Regions from separate parts of the Homo sapiens genome. Here regions 1, 2 and 3 are each linked to region 4. Evidence: promoter capture Hi-C in human tissues and cell types (Jung and others, 2019). All regions are on one chromosome and are shown on one strand. The core of a region is centred on a gene start or on the middle of the fragment in contact, and the rest is flanking DNA. Distances in the headings are between cores, read along the strand shown.

Region 1 (5,227 bases), core at 2,606-5,105, 310 kb before region 4:
TTATTTAGCTAACTTCTACGGTTGAACATATATACCAGCAGCTCTTAACAGAGGTGATTTTGCCCCCTAGAGGACACTGGGAATATATGCAGATATTTTCAGTTTTCACAATTGTGGGATGTTATTGGCATCTAGTGGGTAAAGGTCAGAAGTTGGAGTTCTTGTTCTTGGTGGGGTGTTGTTTTGTTTTGTTTTGTTTTGTTTTTTTGAGTTGGAGTTTTGCTCTTGTTGCCCAGGCTGGAGTGCAATGACGTGATCTCATCTCACCACAACCTCTGCCTCCTGGGTTCAAGCGATTCTCTTGCCTCAGTCTCCCTAGTAGCTGGGATTACAGGCGGATGCCATGAAGCCCAGCTGATTTTTGTATTTTTAGTAGAGACTGTGTTTCACCATGTTGGTCCAGGCTGGTTTCGAACTCCTGACCTCAGGTGATCTGCCCACCTCAGCCTCCCAAACTACTGGGATTACAGGTGTGAGCCACCGCACCCAGCCTGTTTTTTTGTTTTTGTTTTTTTTTTTTCTTTCTGAGACGGAGTCTCCCTCTGTCACCCAGGCTGGAATGCAATGGCATGGTTTTGGCTCACTGCAACCTCCGCCTCCCGGGTTCAAGTGATTCTCCTGCCTCAGCCTCCGGAGTAGCTGGGATTACGGGTGCCTGCCACCATGCCTAATTTTTGTAGTTTTAGTAGAGACGGGGTTTCACCATATTGGCCAGGCTGGTCTCGAACTGCTGACCTCGTGATCCGCCCACCTCGGCCTCCCAAAGTGCTGGGATAACAGGCGTGAGCCACTGCGCCTGGCCATATTGTTGCTTTTGAAACAGGGTCTTGCTGGAGTATAGTGCTATAACAATCGTAGTTCACTGCAGCCTTGACTTGAACTCCTGGGCTCAAGAAATCCTCTGGCCTCAGTCTCCTTCCTCTTGCTGTAGCTAGGGCTACAGGTATGTGCCACTAGTTCCAGCTAGAGTTTTTTTTTTTTTTTTTTTTTTTTTTTTTTTTTTTTTTTTTGAGAGGGAGTCTTACACTGTCGTCCGGGCTGGAGTGCAGTGGTATGATCTTGGCTCACTGCAACCTCCGCCTCCAGGGTTCAAACGATTCTCCTGCCTCAGCCTCAGTAGCTGGGACTACAGGCGCACAACCGCCATGACCAAATAATTTTTTGTATTTTAGTGGAGACGGGGTTTCATCTTGTTGCCCAGGCTGGTCTTGAACTCCTGAGCTCAGGTAATCCGCCCGCCTCGGCCTCCCGAAGTGTTGGGATTATAGGCGTGAGCCACCGCGCCCGGCCTTTTTTTATTTTTTATTTTTTGAGACAGCATCTTGCTCTTGCCCTGTTGCCCAGGCTGAGGCCAGAGATTTTGTTAAATAATGTACACTGTGCCCGGTTCAGGAGCATTAGTTTTATTAGGCTGCATGAAATGTATCCACTTAAGACTTTACCAGGCTGGGTGCGGTGGCTCATGCCTGTAACCCTAGCACTTTGGGAGTCTGAGGCGGGTGGATCACCTGAGGTCAGGCGTTCGAGTCCAGCCTGACCAATATGGCGAAACCCCGTCTCTACTAAAAAATAAAAAATTAGCCCGGCGTAGTGGCGTGTGCCTGTAGTCCCAGCTGCTCGGGAGGCTTAGGCAGCAGAATCGCTTGAACCCGGGAGACGGAGGTTGCAGTAAGCCGAGATCGTGCCACTCCACTCCAGCCTGGCGACAGAGCAAGACTCTGTCTCAAAAAGACAAAAAAAAAAAAAAAAAAAAAAAGACAAAGAAAAAAAAAAGAGAGAGAGAGCTTGTTAGATCTTAGTGCTATATTTCCTTGATTATTTTTATTTTAAGGCTGACAAAATGCCATTTAAGATAATAAAAGTAGTTAAATTGCCTGACCAAGAGCTAGATAACATTGAGGAAAAAGTATTGGCAATATTCTTTGGTCTAATACTGCTATATACCAACCATTTTACCCAATCATTCAAATAGGCTTAGTAATACAAGGGCGAAAAAGGAAAACTACAGCTAATAGTGCTATCCTTGTTCTTTTTTTTTTTTGAGACGGAGTCTCGCTCTGTCGCCCAGGCTGGAGTGCAGCGGTGCAATCTCGGTTCACTGCAAGCTCCGCCTCCCCGGTTCACGCCATTCTCCTGTCTCAGCCTCCCGAGGAGCTGGGACTACAGGCACCCGCCACCACGCCCGGCTGATTTTTTTTTTTTTTTTTTTTTTTTTTTGTATTTTTAGTAGAGATGGGGTTTCACCGTGTTAGCCAGGATGGTCTCTCTCTCCTGACCTGGTGATCCACCCGCCTCGGCCTCCCAAAGCGCTGAGATTACAGGCGTGAGCCACCGCGCCCGGCCTATCCTTGTTCTATATACTGATTACGCATACTATATATGGACCTTTTCCTTCCTCAACCTTTCTATAGATTTCTAAGAATAAGGTTTTGATGAAGTAGTTTATGTATCCTTCTTTTTCAGTTAATCCTAATGGAAAACGGTTGGAAAAATGAAACAATTATCTTACAACTTATTTTTCTCTTTCCTCTCCTCCCCTCTCTCTAAAAGAGTGTGGCTCCTTCCCCTCTCTTTTCCCCTTCCTCTCTCTAGAGTGGTTAACTCTCAAACTGTATTTAACTCTGGAAAAGTTTTCAATTACACAGGCGATAACTCCAACTTGAGGTATAACGGAAACTTATTAAGAGAAAAAGAGCAAAATAATTTTTTTTTGAGACTCAGCAAAATAATTTTTTTTTTTTTGAGACGGAGTCTCCGTCTGTCGCCCAGGATGGAGTGCAGTGGCGCGATCTTGGCTCACTGCAACCTCCGCCTCCCGGGTTGGAACAATTCTCCTGCCTCAGCCTTACGAGTAGCTGGGATTACAGGTGTCCGCCACCACTCCCGGCTAATTTTTGTATTTTCAGTAGAGACGGGGTTTCGCCATGTTGTCCAGGCTGGTCTTGAACTCCTGACCTCAGGTGATCCAACCACCTCGGCGTCCCGGAGTGCTGGGATTACAGGCGCGCGCTACCAAGCACAGCTAATTTTTTTTTTTTTTTTTGAGACGGAGTCTCGCTCTGTCTCCCAGGCTGGAGTGCAGTGGTGCGATCTTGGCTCAATGCAACCTCCACCTCCCGGGTTGGAACAATTCTCTTGCCTCAGCCTTCCGAGTAGCTGGAATTACAGGTGTCCGCCACCACGCCCGTCTAATTTTTTATATTTTTAGTAGAGACGAGGTTTCATCATATTGGCCAGACTGGTCTTGAACTCCTGAACTCCAGTGATCCACCCACCTTGGGCTGCCAAAGTGTTGGGATTAGAGGCTTGAGCCACAGCGCCGGGCCTTCAGGGGTATCGATTTTGTTCCCGTGCCTCTTGTGTGTGTTCTAGTGTGGAAGTGGAGGCGATTGCTTTCCAGCACAAGCCCGTTTGACTGTCGGGGTTTGGACAAGTGGCTGCGACGACACTAAGGTGGAGACCGGGATGTAGCGAGGACTCCCAGAGTTGGGAGACGTTGTACGCTTACTGGGACCTAAATCCCGCACGAGTTCCCACCCAAGTGCCGCCGCCCCAGCCTACGCACGCGCATTCGCACCGTCTCCAGCCCCGGGGTCCTCCTGCCCCTCCCGCCGTCTCCGGGGGCCTTTTCTCCGCTCGGCACCAGGGTGTCCCCGGCGCCGCCTGATCCTGTTAGCGCGGTACTCTGAGTGCAGTCAGTCCTCGGCGCTGTTTTCCCTGATTTGCTGTCGACGCCAGGAAGGAAGGACGCGTGCAGAGGACCGCAGAGGGGTGGCCGTGGCTGAGAGGAGACAGCGCCGCAGCACTGAGGGTTTGGGCTTGCAGGCGCTGCAGGAGACGCCCAGGCGGAGTCTTGTCTCGCAGCCAGCTCTGAGCGGGAGGCCTGAGCGGGAAGCATTGGCGTCCGAGCGACTTCTAGGAGCCTGGGGTTCGGCGCTATGGAGGAGCTCGATGGCGAGCCAACAGTCACTGTAAGGGTACCCCGAACAGGCTTGCTCGTCCTTGCGGGTTGAGAACTGCGTCTGCTTAGTTACTTCAGGCTTGTCTGCTTCCCTAGTGGTCGCGAGGCGCTCGTCCCCTTCCCTCGACTCAGTTGCCACTTTTCCGGAGGTCGCAGTGTTAACGAGGTGCCCGCCCTAGGGTCGCAGTGGTCGCGGGGTTTCTGCCACCAGTCACAAACCCCGGCCTCGAAGGTCCCACTCCGTCCCTTTCCTTCCTTTGTGTTCCTGGCCTTTTTACTTCCCTTGCTTTTCCTCTTGGGCATTAGAGTGGGTTCAGCCCAAGCAGAGGAATTTATATTTTTATTCCAGCCGTATTAAGCTCTGCATCGCGGCACATTGAGCTTCTGCCTGTGTGGCCTAAGGTTTATTCAACGTATTATCTCAGGAGACTATTCCTGTTTTATCGCTGTGCATTCAATTCCATTTGAACTTTGAAGACAGTATGTCAACTGTGGATGATCTGTGATGTGTATAAAAAAAATTCACGCGCTTTATGTACGAGATACCTACCGTTTCTGCTAGTTGGATTGCTCTTGTTTTCCCTCTTGTTAACCAGAAGTGACTGAGGCAGGTCTCAACCGATAAAGGTTTAATTAGCTAAGGTTGAGGATCCAACCGGGAAAAAGCACAGGTCACAGGAGGATCTGAGACCTGTGCTTTTTCCAAAGATGGTTTTGGGAACATCACTAGTTAAAGAGGAAGGAGCTAGCAGGAGGGGCAAAAAAGGGAGGTTAGGCAGTGAGGAGGCAAATGATTACATTCTTGTGAGTCGGTGATTAGCCTCAGTAAATCTGCATTTTACCTGTGAAAAGAGGGAGCAGAGGAAAATTTTATGTATGCATTCATCTCAGGGTAGGTAGAGGGATTATGGTTATTATTACTGTTATTTTTTAGACGGAGTCTCGCTCTGTCTCCCAGGCTGGAGTGCAGTGGCGCGGTCTCGGCTCACTGTAACCTCCGCCTCCCGGGTTCACACCATTCTCCTGCCTCAGCCTCCTGAGTAGCTGGGACTACAGGTGCCCGCCACCACGCCCGGCTAATTTTTTGTACTTTTTTGTATTTTTAGTAGAGACGGGGTTTCACCGTGTTGGCCAGGATGGTCTCAATCTCCTGACCTCGTGATCCGCCCACCTCGGCCTCCCAAAGTGCTGGGATTACAGGCGTGAGCCACCGCACCCGGCCGATTTCTGGTCTTTTACTTGTGAAGATAAGCTGGTAGTTGACAT
Region 2 (5,340 bases), core at 2,245-4,744, 390 kb before region 4:
TATTTTTAGTAGAGACAGTTTCACCATGTTGGCCAGGCTGGTCTCGGACTCGTGACCTCAGGTGATCCACTCACTTCAGCCTTCCAAAGTGCTGGGATTACAGGCGTGAACCACCGTGCCCGGGCCGGCCTTGTTTTAGGTTTTTACATTTAAGAAAGGGGAAAAAAAAAGCGTATCAGCCATTGAACTTGCTGAACTGAGAGGGAAAGGGATTTGTGCCCACTTCTGGAAGGGTGGGCTGTGGCAGGCTGGAGCAGGCAGGCAGGCCTTTCTGGAAACTTGAGAAGGCAGGAGCCGGAATGGGCTTTGGATGCCTTGTGCTGGGGCCAGCTTCTCAACAGCCTGGGCCCCTACCTGGGGCTCACGGGCAGGGGAGGTGGGAGGAGGCCCGGGGCTACAGCATCCAGACTCTTCCTTGCTCTCCCACAGGAGGCCTGTGCAACCTGTGCCCAGACAGGGCCAACAAGGAGCACATCCTGCACGCAGGAGGTGTCCCACTCATCATCAACTGCCTATCCAGCCCCAATGAGGAGACGGTGCTGTCTGCCATCACCACGCTCATGCACCTGAGCCCGCCGGGCCGCAGCTTTCTCCCAGAGCTGACCGCCACGCCCGTGGTGCAGTGCATGCTTCGCTTCTCCCTCTCGGCCAGCGCCAGGCTCCGGAACCTGGCACAGATCTTCCTGGAGGACTTCTGCTCCCCCCGCCAGGTGGCCGAGGCCCGCAGCCGGCAGGCGCACTCTGCCCTGGGTATCCCACTGCCGAGGAGCGTGGCCCCACGGCAGCGCTGATCCATGGAGACTGCGAGACCGTGGCACCCCTACTGCTGGAGACCACAGTCCTGATGTGGACGCAGGGAACGGGGAGCACATACTGCCCCATTGGTGCCTTTTCAGCCATCTGAAAGGCGGGTTCTTTCAGCAGGACAGGCATTTACACTGATGAAACGCCACTGGGAGTGAGGAAGCCAGACTCCAGAGACACGGAGAAGATCAAACTGGAGCTGCGTTCATAGGCTGGCACTCTCAATCCTACATCAGGTGCCACCACCACCAGACTCAGGCCCTGGTGTAAGAAGCGGCCAAGTGCCTGGACCCAGAGGCTTTGCAGGACAGTGTTCTCAGGAGCTGGGCCTGAGGCTTAGGAGAGCTGCCTTCGCTGCAGGAAATCAGGGATTATCCCTTAACAGAAGTGTCTGGAGTAGTTTTCAGGTATAGGAATGAGATGCCTCGTGGTGAAAGGATCTCACCCTGGGAAGATGTGGTGCCCCCTCCAGGGCTCTGGAGGATGGATGCCTCCCCCAGGGGCTCTCCAAGCTGGGCATTTGGGCCTGGTGGATGCCAACCTGGATAACCTGTGGCCCAGCATTGACTGTCCACCCAGCCTTGCTGTTAGGCACCATGACTCCAAGATGAAGATGTGGTCCCTGCCCTTGAGTGACAGCCCAGGGACTTAATGTGGCCATCGGGCATCAAGCACAAGGCCATGCAGGTGATGATACGTCGGAATAGAGGCACCAGCCCTGGTAACTGCATCTTCTCCCCTTGCCACCCCATGGCCCCGGCTGAAAGCTTCGGCCCTCCTCTGCTGTCACTCAATGATGGGGAGCCCTACCCCAGAAGTGTATCCCACGAGGGCATCAGGGACGCAGTGAGTGTTGCTCAAGGGAGTCAGGAAGAGACGGCAACGTAAAGGATGTGGCTCCATGTCCATGGTGCCCCCTGGTCAACATAAGGAGCGTGGGATCCGATGGAAAGGTGGAGCTCAGGGAAAATGGGGGTCCTTGCCTCTCGTGTACCCCCTCAAGGCTGACCCCTTAGATGGCCCAGGAATGGCAGGTGCTACAAAAATGGTACCCACGTGGGCATGGAAATGGGGCAGATTAGGGGACCACTGGACTCAGAGGGGAGGGAAGGGCTCATCAGCACCCGCTCAGGGAGCCTGTCCCTTTATGTTCCCAAATAAAGGGTCCTAGAAGACTAGAAAGCCAAGGTCTTTTATTAAAGGTCCCGACTGGTTTTCCCACTGTATTTCCATGCCAGCCAGGGTCCAGGGACAGCCTCTCGGGAGGTACCGGGTGGCTGGGCCTGGGGCCCGGTAGCACAGCGCTTAACGGTATCTGCCTGCTCCACTCCACGGGGCCAGAGGCACCAGCACGATGCCGCCCCGACTCGGCTCTGCGGTGGCCCCTGTGGGCCTGCCCTTCCTTTAGCTCCAGCTGCTGCCCGCGGCATCCCCGCTCATTCCCGCTGCGCAGCTCCGCGCTTGCTATCTAAGATCTCCCTCCAGTTGTCACTCCAGGAGAGCAGCCGTCTCCTTGTCGGGGGCAGGACCAGGTGCCGATTGTGGCAGCAGGTGAACAAGATGTGCTCCCAGCTTGGGGTCTCCTCCTGGCCTAGGACAGTGAAAGACAGCGCGCTGCCATCTGTCATGGGTATTATTACTCCCTCTCCCTAATCCGGGCAGGCCAGAGGCCTGGAGGCTGCCAAGGATAACGGGTCCAACCTCGAACTGTGTCCTTGTCATCAATGAGCAGGTCCCCCAAGACCACCGTCTTGTCCCTTGTCAGGATAATTCGTTCTACGAACTGGGGCCCCAGGTGCTGCTCCACCCAGCGGTACTGTGTAGAAAACACAGTCTGTGAGTAGGGCCTGATGGAAGCCGGAATTCAGGGATAGGGACTTGGCTCTAAGCCCTTGAGAGCCCCCCACCCCCACCTTCTGGGTTTCTGGTGGTTTCTTTTTAAAATCAGGATTTAGGCAGCTCCACGTGCGGAGTAGGGGCGGGGCAGCCACACCTTCTCACCCACACAGTGGTGGTACTTCAGCAGGGGGCTGGTGCAGATGAAGACCTGCGTGCTGCGGAGAAGGACGCGGTTACCGCCGGGAGCCAGGAGCCCGCCCAGGACTCCGCCCGCCCCCCTCTCTCCTTACTCCGGTAGGTCGTTCATCTCCCGCACAGCGTCCAAGGCTCCCGGGATGGGCTCCAGGTCCAGGAAAAAGCCCGGGGCTTCGTACACACTGGCCACTTTATCCTGAAAGACAAGAGTTCTGGGTCCCGGCTTCCCGTTCCCGCGAGGACCCGCAGGGAGGCTCCTGGGGGCTCCGGGCCCGAGCTCAGAGGGGCGGAGGGGGCGTCGGTCAGGGGCACGCGCCCAAAGGCTCCTCCCCAGGGTGCGCTGCCCGCGGGTTCCAGGGTGAGAGCTCTGCGCCCTTCACAGAGAAGGGGGAGACCCCCGGAACGGAGCGAGCGGGCCCTGCCCGGGTGGGGACCCTGCGCCCCCTACCGCCAGGTCGGGCCGCAGGGCGCGGTACTGCTCGCGGGCCAGGAAGCCGCGGCGTTGCTCCAGCGGCACGTGCGGCTCCTCAGGGAAGCGGCGGCGGAAGCCCCGCAGGAGGCCGGCCTCGAAGTCGGCCAGGACGCCGTCCATGTCCACCAGCACGCGCACGCTCCGCGCCATCGCCGCCGGGCCGGAGCTGCGAGCTCTCGGGGTCTGGGGGGCGCGGGCTCGGCCGGAAGCGGAGGGAGCGCTGCTTCCGGAGTCCGCCGGGCTGATTTGCATAGAGTGTCCGGGCCGCCCCGCCCAGGTCGTAAACCAGTGCCGACGGCCCTGCGGTTGCGCGAGGCCATCCTAGGGTTCGGGTGCAGGGACGGCTTTGGGGGGCACTTTTCTGACCCTGCGCTTCTTCGGGACCCAGCCTTTGTCCCCATCAGCCGCCTCCCACTTTACGGCAGACGTACCCCCGTTCACCCCACGTTACTAGTAGGGGACCGACCTTCCGGGGGCCCAACAAAGGGATGCTCTGAAATACTGGGAAGCATCTAACGAGGAGTCAAGGGTCCTAAACCCGTGGGGCTAGCTCCACATTTTTTTTCTTTTTTTCTTTTTTTTTTTTTTTATTTTGAGACGGAGTCTGGCTCTGTCGCCCAGGCTGCGGCGCAGTGGCGGCGCGATCTCGGCTCACTGCAGCCTCCGCTTCCCGGGTTCAACCGATTCTCTTGCTTCAGCCTCCCGAGTAGCTGGGATTACAGGCACCCGCCACCACGCCTGGCTAATTTTTGTAGTTTTAGTAGAGACGGGGTTTCGCCATGTTGGTCAGGCTGGTTTCAAACTCCTGACCTCAAGTGATCTGCCTGCCTTGGCCTCCCAAAGTGTTGGGATTATAGGCTTGAGCCACCGCACCTGGCCAAAGTCTTATTACCGCAGTACCGTGGTCTCAGTGGATTGCTTTCGTCTGTGCAGTGGAGCAGGAACAATCCCTCGAGGACTACAAAGTGAAATGAATCTGTTAACTGGTTTGTGTAAGTCTAGCTCGTTAAGAGACTAATTCACACTAGAGTTGGCTTGAAACATGGGAGCTTCAAGTGTGGTTTCCCCCGGAAAGATGATTTTGATCAAGCACAGGTAATCAGGACTGTCCTCAGGACTTTATGTGGAACTGACATCGCTTACCTACTCCCGTCTAGAAAATGCTGAACAGGGCCAGGTGCGGTGGCTCACGCCTATAATCCCAGCACTTTGGGAGGCCGTGGCGGGCGGATCATCTGAGGTCGGGAGTTCAAGACCAGCCTGACCAACATGGAGAAATCCTGTCGCTACTAAAAATACAAAATTAGCGTGGTGGCACATGCTTGTAATCCCAGCTACCCGGGAGGCTGAGGCAGGAGAATCTCTTGAATCCAGGAGGCAGAGGTTGCGGTGAGCCGAGATCATGCCATTGCCCTCCAGCCTGGGCAGCAAGAACAAAACTCCTTCTCAAAAAAAAAAAAAAAAAAAAAGAACATGCTGAACTGTGATACATTTTGTTGACTCTTCTTTTTGTGGATGTCATGAAACTTCCTGACTCCACTCAAATCTATTTGCCTACAAACTATAAAGCCAGGCGCCGTGGCTCAGGCTGGTAATCCCAGCACTTTGGGAGGCCCAGGTGGGAGACAGCTTGAGCCCAGGAGTTCAAGACCAGCCTGAGCAACACAGGGAGACCCTGTCTCTACAATAAACAAATCAATAAGCTGGGTATGGTGGCGCATGCCTGTGGTCCTAGCTACTCATGAGCCTTAGGTGGGAGGAACCCTTGAGCCCAGGAAATTGAGGCTACACAGCCTTCATCCTGCCACTGCACTCCAGCCTGGGTGACAGAGGGAGTCCCTGTTGGGGGAGGGGAGAGCCAAAATTATAAACACAGATTTAAGTGGCCCATCTCGCCATTGTTCCCCATCTGATGAACCCACTGCTTCCAAATATATGTAACAGAGGCTGGGCACGGTAGCTCACGCCTGTAATCCCAGCACTTTGGGAGGCTGAGGCGGGCGGATCATGAGGTCAGGAGATCAGGACCA
Region 3 (4,923 bases), core at 568-3,067, 340 kb before region 4:
GCCACCTTCAAATTAATATGATCGTTGTTCTCAGTCTTGACTCCTTCCTGTTAAAAGAAAAATAAAAGTATAATTTGGGAAATGTGATCAACGAACACGTTTTATAAAGCAGCAGCAGCCCTAGTTGCTTCAAAAATCAACAGGTTTCTCATACTGTATGCTAAAACGGCATACTGCTGTTTTCAGCTGCTGAAATCAATGTGAAAGCGGAAAAATCCTGCAGTAACAGTATTAGATAGCTGTCAGATACGGAAAAGCCTACATGCAATACTATCAGTAGCAACAATATGTTTAAAGTTGGGTCCTATTCAGTGTATTGCAACGTTCTCTTGAAGTTAAACTTCCTAAAATGACATATATCACTCCCAAAATACTTTACCCCCCAAAAAAGTTAAAAATAGAGTCCCTTCTCTTTTCTAAGCACTTTAAGTACAACTGCAAGAAACAAAACAATAAATCTACAGCCTGCCATTCAAAACTCATTACCGTTGTCATTAAAAAGTTACCAAACTCAGTTTAATAACCTAAATCCAATCTCCATTAAAGGAAACACACAAACAAAAAAAACAATCGAAGAATATCCCGATTCCCCCCGGAACAGCGGTAATACTCAGTCAGGACCACAGTTAACGTTCTCCTCTATTAGCAGCTTCATTTTTATTTTCGGTTAAGAGCACTTATTCTCCCCTCCCCCCCTTTGTTGTCATGGGTCAAATACACAGTTTTATCCTGATTTGTTTCTTGTAGATTTCGACCCAACCTAAAGTTGTCCAAAATCGAGTGCAGAAGCAATTCTGTAGCCCTAAAACGCTCCAGAAAGTAAAGGCGCGGGAGGCGGGGGGTGCCACCAAACTAAAAGCAGCAAGTCCCGTGTGCCCCGATGATGGGTGTCCCCAAGTCCTCCCGGGAAGTCTCCGGGTGCCTCAAAAGCCGCGTTCAAAAGTTAAGCCGCACAAAGTCTCTCTGCTCGTACCTGTGCCTCCAACTTCATGAAACCACATGGTGTTCGCGGATTAGGGGTTCGTTGGCACCCAGGGAAAAGCCGCTGCCCCTCCCCCTTCGGGCCCCTGAGGCTATTAAAGTGGGAAATACTCCACGGGAATCCCCCTACCCCCAGGCCCAGGACGGCGGCCCGCGGGCATCCAGGTTCCTGCCCGTCCGCAGCCCATTGATTCGCCCCGAACCCTCGCCCCGCCGCCGCGGCCCCAGGCAGGGGTCCCCAGATGCCCGCGGTTCCTACCCGAGAGGTGAAGCCCGAGCCCAGAGGACTCCTCGCCGCCTCGGAGACTGCAACACCCGACGCGGGGTCGACAGAAGGTGGAGACCCCGCGCGCCCTAACGCCCCTCCTCACGCGCGCCGGCCGGCTGGGCCAAGAATCCCCGTTCGGGGCTGGTGGGTCCGCGGGCGTCCGCTTTCTGCCCGCCCAACTCGCGCCCGGCGCGCACTCGGAGGCCGCCGGGGGCGGGAGAGAGCGGCGGGGCCTCCTTCGGCGCGGGAGGGAGGAAGAGAGGGAGGGAGGAAAATGGCGCGGAGCGCCCGGGCCTGAGCCGCGGCCGGCCCCGTGGGGGGCCCGGGAAAGCGCTGGGAGCCAGCGGCGGGCTCTGGCCGGACCCCGGCCCGCGCCATGACCCCCACCGCGCGGCGAGGCGAAGGGGCCGGCGGCGAGCTCACCTTGGGCTTTTCGTCGGCCATGGCGAGCGCCGGAGTCTCCTCAGCTGCCGCTTCACAAAAGAGGTACCAGGTCCGCACCAAACGAGCACACAAGCAGCACCAGGAGCGGCAGAAGAAGGAGGCGGCAGCGGTGGACGAGGGGAGAGGGTGCGCGCACGTCGTGCGCTCCCTCCCCCCACCCTGCGTGCGCGAGCACGAGTAGCCGAAGCCTCCCATTGGCTGGCGCCTCGCGGGAGCGCGCAACGCTTACATAACCACCCCCACCCCCCGTCCCACGCCACCGCGTCCTGGGCCAGGCGCCCGCCCGGCCGGCGGGAAGAGGCGCGGACACGCGCACCCGGCCCGCCGCGGGGGCGCGCCTGGCTCTGGGCGGGGCTGTATTGTCCTCCTTCGTGGTGGAGCATAATCAAAATGGCTTCCAGCTGGTCCTCGGTGGGAACGATGAGGCTCGAGGCTTTAGACGTAAGCCATAGGCCAGGGAAGGCAGACTTACTAGAGGAGGAAGGGGATTCCTAAATCAAAGCCCCAGCATGAGGTTCTGGAAAAATCTCTCTCATTCAGTGGACCAGCAGCCCTCCCATGGTTACTTCCTCTCAGTCAATCTCAACCTGCTTCCCACCGGACTCTTGCCTAAAATGCAGTGTCTTCTTCTTCTTCTTCTTCTTCTTTTTTTTGAGACGGAGTCTCGCTCAGTCGCCCAGGCTGGAGTGCAGTGGCACGATCTCGGCTCACAGCAACCTCTGCCTCCCGGGTTCAAGTGATTCTCCTGCCTCAGCCTCCCGAGTAGCTGAGACTACAGGTACCCGCCACAACGCCCGGCTAATTTTTCGTAGAGACGGGGTTTCACCGTGTTAGCCAGGATGGTCTCGATCTCCTGACCTCGTGATCCGCCCGCCTCGGCCTCCCAAAGTGCTGGGATTACAGGCGTGAGCCACCGCGCCCGGCCTACAGTGTCTTCTTCTGTCCTGCTGGTAACCCTAGACTTTGACTAGCTACGGGAAAATATTCATGTATTCATTCAACGAGATCCTTACTCATCGCCTGTCTTCCAAGAGGAAACAGTATCCATAAGCGAGAACTACCCAACAATCAAGCTTCCAGCCAATTTAATCCTTTCCTCGTTGCATCCAGTTAAAACATACACATGCGTCCCTCCTGTCTGAAGAACAATCCGATGTGTGTGCACTGGATTCCATCTCGCTTCTTCCCCCGGGGCTTTATTATTTCCTTTTGTCCCTGAATTTTCTTCCTCTCCTCCGTTAGTATAGAAAAAAAAAAAAAAGCTCCCAATTCTATGAAGTTACCATCCTATCTCTCTCCATTCTTGGCCAAACAGCTCGAAAAAATGTCCCCGCCAGCTGTCTCCAACCCCTCCCCTCCCACTCACTCCTCAACCCACTGCAATCTGGTGCTGTCCCCAAAGTTCCACTAAAACTGCTCTCCACAAGGTCACCGCAGACTTCTTTGCTGAATCCAGTATGCTTCTCAGTTTGTCACTCCTCTTGAACTTTGCAGGAGGTAGGTTTTCCTCTCATCTCTAGCCTGTCCTTTGTTCTCTCTGCAATTTTTTTTCTTACTCACTCCTTCCCTTAACTGTTCCTTAGGGTTTTCTTCAAGATCCTTTTATCACTCCATTCCCTCTCCGAGGATGATTTCACCGATTTTCATTACCATCTCTTTGCTAATGATCCTCAAATCCATTATTTCTAGTCCACGTCTTTCTTCTGAGTTTCCAGTTGATTTCTGAACATCTCCACTTGGATATCCCAGAGGCACCTCAGACCCAGCAACTCTCAACTAAAACTCCTCACTTTACCTTCCACATGGGTCCTTCTTCCTGACCTGTCACTCTTAAACTGAGTGACACACCACTACAACAGCTGCCCCAAGCTGGAAAGGCCAGCAACATTCCTGACTTCTTCTCCTTCACACACTCCTCATCCAATCAATCTTGGCCAAATCTTGTCTATTCCACCTTCTTACCAAATCTAATTTCTTTGGCCTCTGGATGGAGCTGCATTTGCTGGCCTTCTGTAGGTTCTCTTTGGGGAGGAAGAGGCTTAAGACCTTAGATGTGTGATAGGCCAAAGCAGGAAGACCATCTAGTTCAGATCAACACTCTCAAAAGAGGCCGGGCATGGTGGCTCATGCCTGTAATCCCAGCACTTTGGGAGGCCGAGGTGGGAGGATCACCTGAGGTCAGGAGTTCGAGATCAGCCTGACCAACATGGAGAAACCCTGTCTCTACTGAAAATACAAAATTAGCTGGGTGTGGTGGCGCATGCCTGTAATCCCAGCTACTCGGGAGGCTGAGGCGGAAGAATCGCTTGAACCCGGGAGGAGGAGGTTGTGGTGAGCTGAGATCTCACCATTGCACTCCAGCCTGGGCAACAAGAGCGAAACTCCATTAAAAAAAAAAAAAAAAAAAAACACTCTCAAGAGATACTGCAATATCAGCCGGGCACGGTGGCTCATGCCTGTAATCCCAACACTTTGGGAGGCCGAGGCGGGCAAATCACCTGAGGTCAGGAGTTTGAGACCAGACTAGCCAACATGGTGAAACCCTCTGGTGGCTCACGCCTGTAATCCCAGCACTTTGGGAGGCCGAGGCGGATGGATTGCCTGAGGTCAGGAGTTTGAGACCAGCCTGGCTAACATGGTGAAACCCTCTGGTGGCTCACGCCTGTAATCCCAGCACTTTGGGAGGCCAAGGCAGATGGATTGCCTGAGGTCAGGAGTTTGAGACTAGCCTGGCTAACATGGTGAAACCCAGTGTCTCTACTAAAAATACAAAAATTAGCCAGGCATGGTGGCAGGCGCCTGTATTCCCAGCTACTCAGGGGGCTGAGGCAGGAGAATCGCTTGAACCCAGTAAGTAGAAGTTGCAGTGAGCCAAGATCACACCACTCACTGCACTCTAGCCTGGGCAACAGAGCAAGACTTCGTCTCAAAAAAAAAAACAAAAAAACAAAAAAACACAAAGATACTGCAATATGGAAATACCCTCCTAACTCATCTGTTTTTTTTTGTTGTTGTTGTTGTTTGTTTTGTTTTAGACGGAGTCTCGCTCTGTCGCCCAGGCTGGAGTGGCACGATCTCGGCTCACTGCAACTTCTGCCCCCCGGGTTCAAGCGATTCTTCTGCCTCAGCCTCCTGAGTAGCTGGAACTACAGGCACATGCCACCACGCCCGGCTAATTTTTTGTATTTCTAGTAGAGATGGGGTTTCACCGTGTTAGCCAGGATGGTCTT
Region 4 (3,616 bases), core at 78-2,577:
ATGATTTGGGCATGCACCAGTGGATGAAGGTGCTGTCATTTTCTGAGTGGGAAGAATGAAGAGGAGCAGATTTGGGAGGACAAGACCAGTCGAAAGAACTGTGTCAGATAAGTTAATTTTGAGGAGCTTCTTGGACATCCAAGTGAGTGTAAAGCAGACAGACAATTGGAATCCAAGTCTGGAGTGTGAGGAGAGGTCAAGGCTAGATGTAAATATGGGTGCCATGAGCACATGGATGGTATTTAAACTACTGGGCTGTATGGGAGTGCCATCAGAGTAGAGGGCTGGGTCTGAGCCCTGGGGCTCTCTGTGTAGGTTAGGGGGCAGATAAGAAGCAGAAACAGACCGAGGAGTGTCTGGTGATGCAGGAGAAAAACCAAAGTCGCATCACAGAAGCCAAAAGAAGGTCTTTCAAGGAGGAAGTGGTTAGCTGTGCTAAAGCCTGCTGAGATCAAGCAGGATGGGGGACATTCTTATCTATGTTCCTCTGATATGAATGCAGGGACACAAGGTTGAATATGTGGCTCCCTACCAGAAACTTCCCACCGGCATCTGTGGAGGTGTGGGGCTGGAGAGATGCCCACCACCTGCCATCATTTTGTTCACATGGTGATCGGCAGCTTCACTCCTATGAGCTTTGTATCAAAATACTCAAGTATTTCAGGGCGTGGTGGTTTTCTGGTTTCATGGCTATCAGTTTTTTTGGATTTGGCTAAATGTCATTTGTGCCGAGTAAGGTAAGTGGGAGGACAGGAATTCAGAGCCTGAGATCTTTAGGGATGGTGTTCGTAATGAAGCATGGTCCAACCTTAATCACAGGGTTTAGAATCTGGGGGTGTACAGGAGGGGCAGAGAGGGCTGTGGGGATGGCCTGTGTCTGGAGAAACCATTTGGTGTTTTCCAGAGTGGCCATCTGAGCTTTCATTTTTTTTTTTTCTTTTGAGGTCTTCAGCCACCTGAAGAGGTTGGGTTATGTGGTTCGACGATTCCAACCAAGGTAAATCCCCTTCCTGTTCCCCTTCCATATATTCTAGTCCTGGGACCTGGCTGACTAGTCTAAGGTAGAAAATGGCCTCTCCTTACCTGGAACCCTTGGCTGGAGTGCAGTTCCTTGGGCACAGACTGGGGGCGCCTGCTGGAAGCGTTCTGAGAGAGGCAGGTTGGGAGGAATCCAGGTCATTTTGTTTTATTCTGGTTTATGAACTCGAGCCGCATCTTCAGATGACCTGCGCCTGCAGCTGAGTGTGTGTGAGCACTGAGAGGCAGGATTGGAACAGTGCCTGGCACTTAGTAGGTGCGCAGGCAGGTATGTAGAGTGTATGCTTAAATGAAGGACTGGGTGAAGAATTTACCATTAGTAGGGTTTCACATTTTTCATGCCAGGTTAAATGTTTTTTCCTTCATCACCTTAGTAATCCAGCATTGGTAAAAGGCAGAGACCTTCAGACTTGGAGTGGAAACGGGTACAGCTTTTGCAGTTACAGTATGTCACAAAAGCTCTAAAGCAGGCACATCTTTTCTTTTCTTTTTGAGACGGAGTCTCACTCTGTCGCCCAGGCTGTAGTGCAGTGGCATGATCTCAGCTTACTGTAGCCTCTGCCTCCTGGGTTCAAGCAGTTCTCCTGCCTCAGCCTCCCAAGTAGCTGGGATTACAGGCGTGTGCCACCATGCCTGGCTAATTTTTTTATTTTATTTTATTTTTAGTACAGATGGGGTTTCACTGTGTTGCCCAGGCTGGTCTCGAACTCCTGACCTCAAATGATCCTCCCGCCTCAGCCTCCCAAAGTGCTGGGATTACAGGCATGAGTCACCACGCCCAGCTCTACATCTTTTCTTTTCTGAAAGTGGAACCTATCCTAAGGAAATAATCGTGGACGTGTACAGTGGTTCACCTGTGAGAATGATCAACGATATTTATTATTTGCTGGGGGTCAGGCCCTGTACACATCGCTGAGAACAGAAGAGCAAAATCACTGCCCTCACAGAGCTTGCATTTAGTGAGGAGTCACACAGAACACACTCACTGTGCAAAATCAGTGTACTTGCAAACAAGAGTTGAACAAGAGGCAGGCTCACACAAATGAGAGGTTATCCCTTAGAGCAGCTCTGTCCAATAGAACTTTCTGTAATGATGAAAATGTTCTGTGTCTGTGATGTCTAATACATGGGGCTAGAGCAACTGTGGGACTGAATGTTTAATTTCATTTAATTTAAATGTATTTAAATCTAACTTAAATAGGCTGGTGTGGTGGCTCACGCCTATAATCCCAGCATTTTGGGAGGCCGACGCGGGCGGATCGCGTGAGCTCAGGAGTACGAGACCAGCCTGGACAGCGTGGTGAAACCCTGTCTCTACTAAAATACCAAAAAAAAAAAAAAAAAAAAATCAGCCAGGTGTGGTGGCAGGCGCCTATAGTCCCAGCTATTCAGGAGGCTGAGGCACGAGAATTGCTTGAACCTGGGCAGCTGAGGTTGCAGTGAGCCGAGATCTTGCCAGTGCACTCCAGCCTGGGCGAAAAAGCGAAACTCTATCTCAAAAAAAAAAGCAAACTTAAATAGCCACCTGTCGCTAGTGGCTCTTTTTTGAACAGCATTGCCTTAAAGCCTTAATTCACAGCCAGGAGGCCAGGCACAGTGGCTCACACCTGTAATCCCAGCACTTTAGGAGGCCGAGGCAGGTGGATCATGAGGTCAGGAGATGGAGACCATCCCGGCCAGCATGGTGAAACCTTGTCTCTACTAAGAATACAAAAATTAGCTGGGCATGGTGGCACGCGCCTGTAGTCCCGGTACTACTCGGGATGCTGAGGCAGGAGAATCGCTTGAACCCAGGAGATGGAGGTTGCAGTGAGCCAAGATTGTGCCACTGCACTCCAGCCCGGTGAGAGAACGAGACTGTGTCTCAAAAAAAAAAAAAAAAGAAAAAGGAAAAAATTCACAGCAGGGAAGAATGCTGCAGTGACGGGGCTGTGTCCACAATATATTATTGAGTGAAAAAAAAGATCACAAAGCAGTATGCTAGTACAATGACATTTTTGTTAGAAAAAAATATATGGAGAGAGATTAGTGTGTACATAAACGAAAGAAAGATGTTAACAATAGTTATCCAAGGTTTTTATTTTTCTATATTTACCAAGTTTGCTAGCTCCTCTGGGCCATTGCCTAGGCAGAGGCACATGGCTGGGCCCCCTGGCTGGGCCTGTACCCCTCATGGGGGTCTGCTTAGGGCCTTAGCACTTGGGTGTGGCTCCGATCCTGGCCCACTGACTGTCCTCTTGGCCCGTTTCCTTACACATCCCACCAGATCCCCAGGCTGAGGAGGTGGGTCAGTGGCCCACCCGCTGTTCTCACCCCACAGCTCTGTCCTGTCCCCGTATGAGAGGCAGCTTAACCTGGATGCCAGCGTGCAGCACTTGGAGGATGGAGATGGCAAGAGAAAGAGGAGCAGCTCCAGCCCTCGGTAACTCCCACATCACGGTGGCCCCCCAGGGAGTGCTGGTGTCTGGGACCTTGGAAAATGCACAGGCTTTCTAAGAACCAGCAGCTCCCATGCAGGCTCAGGGAGACACTAGGGGACCTGCCTTCAGCTCCCATGGGACGTGTGCACCTTAGCAAC

Evidence for each region. Contacts are between HindIII fragments. The study calls those that stand out against the background at their distance.
Region 1: a contact is called between the fragment with the promoter of NUP85 here and a fragment that was not itself captured in region 4, in 2 of the 25 tissues and cell types used here (dorsolateral prefrontal cortex and lymphoblastoid cells).
Region 2: the fragment with the promoter of NT5C here is called in contact with a fragment that was not itself captured in region 4 in 3 of the 25 tissues and cell types used here (H1 embryonic stem cells, lymphoblastoid cells and spleen).
Region 3: the fragment with the promoter of SUMO2 here is called in contact with a fragment that was not itself captured in region 4 in 4 of the 25 tissues and cell types used here (dorsolateral prefrontal cortex, lymphoblastoid cells, ovary and 1 more).

The regions. Positions count from the first base shown.
Region 1 is chr17:75,201,824-75,207,050 of GRCh38, forward strand. It overlaps NUP85 (nucleoporin 85), which reads left to right and starts at 3,856. Exons shown (of 19, transcript NM_024844.5): 1 at 3,856-3,971. The coding sequence starts at 3,939. RefSeq lists enhancers at 2,661-3,595, 3,596-4,529, 3,688-3,867. The HindIII fragment of the contact is 15,269 bases long and covers 1-5,227 here.
Region 2 is chr17:75,128,248-75,133,587 of GRCh38, forward strand. It overlaps NT5C (5', 3'-nucleotidase, cytosolic), which reads right to left and starts at 3,495. Exons shown (of 5, transcript NM_014595.3): 1 at 3,287-3,495; 2 at 2,934-3,034; 3 at 2,798-2,858; 4 at 2,506-2,620; 5 at 1,981-2,395. The coding sequence starts at 3,460. The coding sequence ends at 2,241. It overlaps ARMC7 (armadillo repeat containing 7), which reads left to right. Exons shown (of 3, transcript NM_024585.4): 3 at 430-2,025. The coding sequence ends at 791. RefSeq lists an enhancer at 2,388-2,477 and silencers at 2,514-2,718, 3,088-3,657. The HindIII fragment of the contact is 10,965 bases long and covers 1-5,340 here.
Region 3 is chr17:75,181,142-75,186,064 of GRCh38, forward strand. SUMO2 (small ubiquitin like modifier 2) reads right to left here and starts at 1,818. Exons shown (of 4, transcript NM_006937.4): 1 at 1,673-1,818; 2 at 1-47. The coding sequence starts at 1,693. RefSeq lists an enhancer at 1,126-1,776 and silencers at 1,358-1,757, 1,888-2,117. The HindIII fragment of the contact is 6,398 bases long and covers 1-4,923 here.
Region 4 is chr17:75,518,051-75,521,666 of GRCh38, forward strand. It overlaps TSEN54 (tRNA splicing endonuclease subunit 54), which reads left to right. Exons shown (of 11, transcript NM_207346.3): 6 at 945-997; 7 at 3,359-3,460. Among named protein-coding and RNA genes, the nearest start is that of TSEN54, 3.3 kb to the left of the region's middle. The HindIII fragment of the contact is 6,204 bases long and covers 1-3,616 here.